2 separate regions of the Homo sapiens genome follow, and region 1 is linked to region 2. Evidence: promoter capture Hi-C in human tissues and cell types (Jung and others, 2019). All regions are on one chromosome and are shown on one strand. Each heading gives the region's core, a stretch centred on a gene start or on the middle of the fragment in contact. The rest is flanking DNA. Distances are from core to core; before and after follow the strand shown. Region 1 has its middle 53 kb from the start of MIR6843. Region 2 holds the start of TRIM35 (tripartite motif containing 35).

Region 1 (4,679 bases), core at 75-2,574, 250 kb after region 2:
CAGAAATCACCTGTCTTCTGCATCGCTCACCCTGGGAGCTGTAGACCGGAGGTCTTCCTATTTGGCCATCTTGGCTCCTCCCCCGATGTAGAATATCTTTCATGTGCTTATTGACCATCTATATATATCTTTGAAATGTCCATTCAAGCCCTTTGTCTATTTTTTGTTGGGTTGTTTTGTGTTGTTGTTGAATGTTAAATCTTGTATATTCTGGATATTTATCCCTTATAAGATATATGATTTGCAAATATACTCTCCCATTCTGTGGGTTAGATTGTGTAGGGGTGGAAGGTATGATACTTCTTCTCACCCATCATAAGGGTCACGGCTGATTCTTCTATAGCAAAAGACAGTAAACAAGGGAAAAGCATACCACATTTATTTAATCACAATTTTACATGACAAGGGAGACTTCAGAAACGAAGACCCAGGAGAACTGTCTGTTTTCATGCTTGTGTTCTATGAAGAATGGACAGTCCTGTGGAAAAGTGATTGACAAAAGGCCATGACCTCATTGTAATAGACTAAGGGGGAACCCAGCAAGGCCTGTGTGCTCAGATTCTTCTTGGCCTTTCTGTATAGCATTCCTTCCTCCCAGGTATAGGGCAGGACCCCTCTGGAACGAGGGTCTTCAAGGGAGAGGGGAGAAAGTGATCTAAGTTTTATGGCTTGCTTTGGGGGAGAGGAGGTCTAGAGTCTATGACCACCTTGGGGGAAGAGGAATTCTAGTTTTTGTGACCCCATTTTGGGGAAGAAAGAGGACCAGAGACAGAAGGGCAGGAGAAGGTCCAATAGCCCATGCTTTAAGGCCCTTCCAATGTGACTATGTGGGCTTAAACGTCAGAGTTTCAAAGACAGAAACAATTTTTTGTTTGTTTGTTTTTGAGACAGAGTCTCTGTTGCCCAGGCTGGAGTGCAGTGACACGATCTCGGCTCACTGCAACCTCCACCTCCCGGGTTCAAGCAATTCTCCTGCCTCAGCCTTCCAAGTAGCTGGGATTACAGGTGCCCACCACCATGCCCAGCTAATTTTTTGTATTTTTAGTAGAGACAGGATTTCACCATGTTAGCCAGGCTGGTCTCGAACTCCTAACCTCAGGTGATGCACCTGCCTTGGCCTCCCAAAGTGCTGGGATTACAGGTGTAAGCCACTGCGCCTGGCCTGACAGAAACAACTTTTTATTTATGCAACTCAAAGTAAGAGAATTCCTGAGAAAGCCCCAAATAGTGGTGTTCATTTTCATTTGAAAGTATTAAGGGACAAATACATATTCATCCTCTTTATCAATTATCTTGGATTCAGATGGTAAAGGAAGTCTGAAGTACTTTAGGCAGCCTCGTCTACTTTGTCTCACATGTGCTGAAGGAACGTTATGCCCTGTGTTGTATTTTAAAGGGAACATGCTGGTGGAATGAGGCAAGGAAGAGAGACCTGCAGACCAGAAATGATTAAACACCCTTCACAATGTCCACAGTAAGGACACGGGTGTTTCACAGAAATGTGTTAGGTTCCCAGGTACAAATGGTGTATTAAGGAGCGCATTCTCAATGATTAACAAGTCTGGGAGGGGAAAAGATCTAAAAACAAGCCCTTCGGTGACCACTAAGGCAGCAACATTCATTTTCCTTGCCAAGAAATGTTTGTAAAAGTTAAGACTCAGCAAGTCCAGAACAGGCTAAGTCCTTCAGGCAAGAGGAAATAAATAACCCCTCGATCACAATCATGGGACGGTGGCAACACAGATCGAATGAACTGATTCACGTGATTTTTGCTGAGTTTCATATTCTCATGTAATTTTATTTTTTTCAATAAAGGCAGTTTATAAAATTGATGTGCTTGGCTTAGGGCGGGGGTAGGAGCATTCCATCCAAGGGCAGTAATGCCAGGTGAAGAAAGGAAACCTCCTGCATGGATCCAGGCTCTGGAAATTTCAGGGGAGAAGGGCAGAAAGTCCACAAGGGTCCCAGGGCTGTGGACTAGATCAGGCCCACTCACACCCCCCAACACTAGGCTCAAAATGTAGTCAAGAAAAAAGGAGCACTTGGACTGGACTATAGCTGAAAGGGGAATTTGTGGGTGGAGAGGAGAATGTACTTTCCTTAAAATTGTAAGGACAGGGTTTGAGAAGGAAGTGGGGAGTTAGAAAAGAAAATAACTTTTATCTGAGGAACACAATCCTTTTAATGGCCAGGCCCAAAGAGACATTAAAACGATATAGCAATCATGCCCTCCTCCCGGCTTTGAGCTCTGTCTCCATCTCTTGAAGCTGCTTGCTTCTGCCACAAGTACTTATAAATTAACCTAACGGTGCCACACTGGACACTCCGACCCATACCCTATAGCTTAACAACGTCTAGCTATTAGCTAACTAATCAGTGTTATTTCTGTAAAGCAAAGAGAAATCCTGACAATTTTGTATCAGTCCACTCCCTGTCCCCCTTTTTTGCCTTGAAAGTCCATCTGTAACTGCTGCTAATCAGAGTGTCTATTCAGGGCAACTTGAATCTATGCTCCCAGGTTGCAATTTGCAAGCTTGGCCCAAATAAACTCTCTACTCAGATTAATTTCGCTGCAGCTTCTTTCCTTTAGGGTCTGCAGAAGCAAGTCCTTGGTTTAGGGTGATACCAGGCTACACCTCTGCATGCCCTCCCCGCTTGCCAGGCGCCTCTCTGTCCCCAGGACTTGATACCAGTCAGTCCTTGTGTTGGCCACAGCCCCTGGGCCCCTTGCAGAGCTTTGGGACAGTGAGTGTGGAGAAGGGACAGCTGCTAACCTGACAGCTGCTTTCTCCAGTCTCAGCCCCAAGGCCCCCCCAACCCCAAGCCCTGCCTTTTCCAGCAGGGAGTCTGCGGTCCTGCGGGGATCTCTGCCCCTGGGCCATGGAGCTGGCAGTTCTGGGGCCCTGCAGGCCCTGCCCCTTCCTCAGGGACAGCCCCAAGTGCGCAGACGCAAAGGGAAGAGTCCTGGCCTTGCCCTATTCTCTCCTGAGGCCCTGACCCCAGGCTCTCCGGCTCGCAGACACGATCTGCTATGGCTGCCATAACAAAGTCCCACAGATCAGGTAACTTAAACAGACGTTTGTGTTCTCACAGTTCTGGAGGCTGGAAGGCTGGGATGAAGGCATCAGCAGGGCTGGTGCCTTCTGAGGCCTCTCTCCTCGGCTTGTAGACAGCCACCTTCTCCCTGAGTCTCCTTCTCATGGTCTTCCTCCGTGTGTGTGTCCTGAGCTCTTCTTATGAGGAGACCAGTCACATTGGACAAGGGCCCTACCATCTGTGCTACAGCCACCAATATCCTGTCCTGTCTCCATAACAGTGGAGCGGGGGCTTGGCTTGGTCACCCCCCAGGTCTGGCAAGGGAACGAACACACACAGGGACCCAGGCTTCAGCTGCACAGGCCTGTGCCCTCCTCCAGCCCAGGGTGCTGTGGCAGCCCCACATCAAGACCCCCCAGCACCCCCAACATCACAGCCTCCCCTGATCTATGATGCTAAGTACCTAGTTAGAGGCTGGGGGTGTGTCATTTGGCTCCAGAATCCCTAGGATTGGGGTCAGAGTTCAGAGAGCTAAACCCTGCCCTCCCACCTTCCCTCAGAGAGGGAGCCCAGGGCGGGAGGCAGACCTGAGCATCTGTTTGTTTATGGCCTTAATCCTGCCTGAGTGGAACCTGTCAATGCTGCTCACTTGCCTCTTGCCAGAGCCCCCTCTCCACTTCTCAGGAGCAAGAGCAGTGAGCAGGGCCCCGAAAGATAGACTCACCATGACAAATACAGAAAGGTGCAAGGTGGCATTTAGCTGACTTTACAGATGAGGAACTAAGGATCAGAGAGGGTGAGTGATTTGCCTGGGGTCGCAGAGCCAATCAGCAGCAGGGCTGGGCACAGACTCAGGACTGATGCCAACTCTGTGCTCAGTTACTGTCCATGCAATTGAGCCAGTACCTGGTGAGTGCCCCCAGGTGCCTGCCAGCGAGTCAGGGTGCCGGACAGGTGTGCTGCATGTTACTCCCATTCTCACCTGCTGGGGCCAGCTTCCCTCAGCTGTAATTTTTGCCAGATAATCTCCCCTTCCTCTATGCCTGCTAGAAAGGCTCTGGGATTCTCTCTGCTATTTCCTTATTTGCTCAGGCTGATGGTCTCTAACTTGTAGAAAACATCTCAGCTGAGACATCAGTCATGGTGGTAATGAACTCTGATTGCTAATTAGTGAGGATTGGGCTCCAGCAATCGATTTCACCGAGCTCTGTGCCCCGGGTCCATGGAATGCGCTTGTGCTTTGGAGTCAGACAGATGTGCCTTCTCATCTCAGTTCCACCACTGATGTTTGTGTGACCTTGGGCAAGTGATTTCAAGTCCCAGACCTCAGTCCCCTCCCTGTAAAGTGGAGAGACCATTCCCACAGCCCAGGGCTGCCATGGGGATCTCATGACATAGTACCCTTGTCCATATGGCAGGCACCAAACAGACAGTACGTCTCTTCCTCTCCCTTCCAGCTCTTAGTCTTTGCCTAGGTCCTCACACCTCCCAGGGTGAGAATAAGTGGAGAATTTGAAGTCCATCTAGCAAAGTCAAGACCCTATGGGAGTACGCCCTCTTTGGTTGGTGACTTTGTGCAACTACACAAAGCAATCCTGGCTTCCCAGTCTGGGCGGTGGTGGGAGCACAGGGGTGGAGGAATG
Region 2 (4,562 bases), core at 1,893-4,392:
CTCCAAAAGGAATGTAGCCCTGCAGACACCTCGATTTTAGGACTTCCAACCTCCAGAACCATAAGAGAACAAACTTGTGCTATTTTAAACCACCACATTTATTACGCAGTAACAGGAAACACAGGACCTGAAAATACGTTTTTGTGAGCATTAAATTTGTTGACGTGTGAACACTGAAAAGCATCTAGCACACAGTGAGCACTGAAATGTGTTAGCTGGGATGATTTTGACTTTGCTGTTCCTCACATAGATAGTTGGCAAAGTAATCTTTCTCTAAAACACACATCCCATCACAAACTCCCCTGTTTAGAATCTTTCAGAGCTCCCCACAGCACAAAACGGAAAACCCCCTCAGTGAGGCACACAGCTTCTTACCCAGTCCCTTCTTACCAAGTGGTGGAGGGAATCTTCCCATACCGCTCCCCCACAACCACCTACCTTGAATCACACAGAACTACATCTTGTCTATTGACTGTCTATGCCCCCTGCTCAAATGAGAATTCCATGAAGCTAAGAAGAGGCCACAGCACACAACAGCCATCAGTACCCATTTGTCTAGTAAATGAGTGATTTGCACCCTGCATCAGGCTGACCACACCTGGCTCTCATTCTTCTCAGATCCATTTGGGACTAGACTACTCAGCCCCTGACATCATCCTGAGTGTCCACTGACTTGACACCATCATTCTTCTGCTAAAACCCCCAGCTGCTGTTCACAGCAAGGGTGAGCCACCGGCCTCCTGGATCCTCCTGCACGTCCCTCCTCATTCTAACTACCCTTAAATTCCCTCAGTGCCTAGAAAGTCAGGCTTTCCCACTTCTGGACCCTTCCAAATGCTGCTGCCTCTATCTGAAATACCCTCTTTCACCTGGCTAACACCTCCTCTTCCCTCGGGTCTCTGCTGGAAGCTCCTTGAGGCTGGAAATGGTCTATCTTGTCTCCTGCAGTATCCCTGGGACCTTGCAGTACCAGGCATCTGCTGGTGCATGGCTCTCTGCTCTTGAATCCTGGCTTGGCCCCAGCCTGGGGGCTCTGCCTGGGTGTTCTCAGCCCTGACCCCAGCATCTCCTGATCAGCACCTCGGCCAGCCAAATAGGCATCAGTCATGACCTGAACCATGATCCCTCCTTTACCTGGGCCCCAGACCCCTGGCTGGCCAGCACTTATTCCAGCTGTCCCAAATCAGGATCTGTCACTTCTGCCAGTGGAAACAGGAAAAGCATTGACATGGACCCATGTTAAACAAAAAAGATGACAGGAGTAACAGGGTTACTCATTGAGACATGCGTACTGACAGCATCCTTACATTCCCCTTCAATTAAACTTTGTCAAATGCATTTGGAGCGGAACAGACTTCCGTATTTAAAAAGGTATTGCAAAAAAAGAAGGCAGGGCCACAGAGGGGGCCAGAAACCAGGCACAGGGGACTCGGGCAGCTCCTCCTCTCCAGTCCATGCAGCTTCGGGCCAGCTACCCAGTGTTCTCCCAATTGGGGCTCTGACTCATGCATTAGCAGGTGATGAAATAAATTCAATGTTTCACATTCTGGGTAATTTTTAAAAGTAACAGAGGCCAGGCGGAGTGGCTCACGCCTGTAATCCCAGTAGTTTGGGAGGCAGAGGAGGGCAGATCACTTGAGGCCAGGAGTTCCAGACCAGCCTGGCCAACATGGTGAAACCCTGCCTCTACTAGAAATTAAAAAAAAAAAAAAATTAGCCAGGCGTGTTGGTACATGCCTGTAATCTCAGCTACTCGGGAGGCTGAGGCACCAGAATCGCTTGAACCCAGGAGGCGGAGGTTGCAGTGAGCTAAGAGCACGCCACTGCACTCTAACCTGGGCGATAGAGGTCTCAAAAAAAAAAAAAAACAAAGGGAAGTAACAGAAAATATCAGAGTGCCATGGACATGTTCAGAAAACTTTTGTTTCAACTGATACATATGTTCTGGGTCACAAGGGAAAATGCATTGCTTCCTATGGGCTAAGATTAAACGTTTTGGAAAATGCTGAGTTAGGCTAACCCTTATCTTCTATTCATTTTTCCTTCCTATATCAAAGAATTCTCCATGTTAGTTTTGCCCTGTAAGTTGCTCCTGGGTTTATGTATAGTCACTAGAACTCTAGATATGGAGATGCTGCTTTATAAACCAGAATAGGCCAGCCAGCCAGGGTCAGAGACCTCTCACTCAGATAATACAAACCGCGGGATCAGCTTGGCAAGTAGGTGACTGGTTTGGGGGAAATCTTAAGACTCCACACCCCTGGCCAGGTCTGTGGCTCCTCCTCCACTTCTAAATTGAGTGTGCCAAGCTACAGGGCTCGTGGGCTGCACCCACATCCGTGCCGCTTAAAGGGACCTGGGCCACACCCGGCTGGCACAAGGGGTGCATGGCCTGGGCCCTTCAGAAGCAAGTGTCGCTGTCTTGGGAACATCATGTAACCTCATCTGTCACTTTCCGTTCGCATTCTCTTCTCCCAGCACGGGCCCCTGGGCCGACCTTGAAGAAGCAGCCAGCCCTGAGAACCTGGGTCGGAGAGGTGGGGTCCTGCATGCTGGGAGCGAGACGCGGGCACACTGGGCTCTGGCAGGCAGGAGGGGCGGGAGCCGCAGAGCCAAGGGATTCCGGGTTCCAGACCCGGCTCGGCCGCCTCGTGCAAATCGCTGCTCTTACCCGAAAGTCGTGGGCAGTGTCCTTCACCGGCTGCACGCGGTGCCCCTGGTGTCGGGGGTCGGCCTGGCAGGAGCAGCACAGCAGCTCCTTGTCCTCGAGGCAGAAGAGGCTGAGCTGTCCGCGGTGCAGGCGGCAGACACGCGAGAAGCGGTAGCTGGTCCAGCGCGCGCCCTCGGCCTCCTCGCGCAGCAGCTTCTCCACCAGGTTGTTGAGGGTGTGGTTGGTGCGCAGGTCGGCGGGTGACGCGCGGTCTTTGCACACTGGGCAGGTGGGCGACACCTGCACCTCCCAGCAGCGGCTCACGCACCCGCGGCAGAAGTTGTGGCCGCAGCGCAGAGTGACTGCGTCGCGGAAGGGGTCGTAGCAGACGGCGCAGAGCAACTCCTCCTTGAAGGAGCGGGAAGGCCCGGGGGACACGTCGGGACTCCGCTCCATGGCACGAGCAGCCGGCTCGGGCGCCCGGAACTTTTGCTCCGGCCCCTCCCACCCGCCCGGCTGCCAACGCCCGCGACCCGAGTGCTGGGAATCGCCCAGTCCCTTCCCCTGGAACGCTGAGAGACAGCGGCGCTGGCCAATCGTGCGGGGGGGATGGCGAGGGGGAGGGAGGGGGCGCTCGGAGGAGCCCCACCCACTTCCGGTGTGCGCGGGAAATCTTGGGAGAGCGGGGTGGGCCTTCTGCCCGCAGTTCCCGCCTCCTCAGGTCCGGGCGGGTCCCTGGCCGGGGTAGCACGGAAGGGTCTCCCAGGCGGCGTAGTAGGGCTTCCGTGTTACTGGAAACCTACTTCCGGCTGCAAATGGGAAAAGGAGCCTCTACCTTAACCAATCCCCGGGAACCTCAGGCCCGCGGATGGGAGAAACCAGAGATGCCAACTTCCTGCTTCCGAAGTAGTGGCTGGGTCTTAAAGCACCGTGAGTGCAATCACCACTTAAGTTTGCAGCGCCTTTTTGAGGACCTATGCCACTCTTGCATTAGTCGTTTACTTATTTTGGCCAGTCTTCTTCTGGCCCGCCGCGGTAAGGAGAAACAAGAGAGGGGTGGCGGCAGAAGAGCTCCGAGAAAACCTGATTCTTGTCCTGTGGTTGAAAAAGTGAACAGGTCATCATGTTTCAAAGTCCATTTACTCATGAGTACAATGGCTGTAATAGCTCTGTTTCCATGAAGTGTGAGGATAAAGTGAAATAAATGTGGAAAGTGCTCATGACAACCACTGTTTTAATGGGCAAGTGCCCATTAAAACAGTGAAATTGAGGACTTCTGCAAAGTTTAGCTGAGATAACTAGAGTTCATGCTCAATTCTTGCCAGGTACAGTAGGCCTGGATGGTTCCTTCAGATCTTCATTCCTGCTTCAGTTTGATCACTTTACAGCCTCCAGATGCAGAATACTTTTCACACGATGCACTTTCATTCCTTTTCTATTGGGAGACAATTCACATGTGTCATGTTCCTGCATGTCTTGAGAGAGCAGAGGCACTGACTGCCTTTTTCCAACTATCTTTTCAAGGATGTTTCTGCATTGAATAGCCCTGGAAGACAGAATTCTTGTCTCTCCAAAGATCTGGCAGACTTATTCCCAATTATAAGAGATGTGAGTTTCCTAAACTTGGGGCCCCTCTCCTGTAATGCAACCTACTGTAGCCTTCATCACATAGTCTTGCAAGAATTAGGGCTCAGAAACTGGCCCAATGACAATACTGTGACTACTATTATTGCTGTTAGTATTATCCTTTGTCTCTGACCCAGGAGTTTCATCTTTTAGCAGTATTCATGAAATTTTGGCATGCAAACTTGTTAGTGTTGAAACTCAGAAAACAATACCCCAAAATGGCCTCAAAAGCAGAAATTTTTCTCTGCCCTCCTATCTCTCAGTCCCCCAAGGATAGCCATAGAAA

Evidence for each region. Contacts are between HindIII fragments. The study calls those that stand out against the background at their distance.
Region 1: a fragment that was not itself captured here is called in contact with the fragment with the promoter of TRIM35 in region 2 in 2 of the 25 tissues and cell types used here (bladder and thymus).

The regions. Positions count from the first base shown.
Region 1 is chr8:27,555,352-27,560,030 of GRCh38, forward strand. No RefSeq gene overlaps it. Among named protein-coding and RNA genes, the nearest start is that of MIR6843, 53 kb to the right of the region's middle. The HindIII fragment of the contact is 4,745 bases long and covers 1-3,697 here.
Region 2 is chr8:27,308,130-27,312,691 of GRCh38, forward strand. It overlaps TRIM35 (tripartite motif containing 35), which reads right to left and starts at 3,143. Exons shown (of 6, transcript NM_171982.5): 1 at 2,672-3,143. The coding sequence starts at 3,106. It also overlaps a transcript of PTK2B not described here. RefSeq lists enhancers at 2,112-2,221, 2,622-2,841, 2,852-3,001 and a silencer at 3,152-3,361. The HindIII fragment of the contact is 16,679 bases long and covers 1-4,562 here.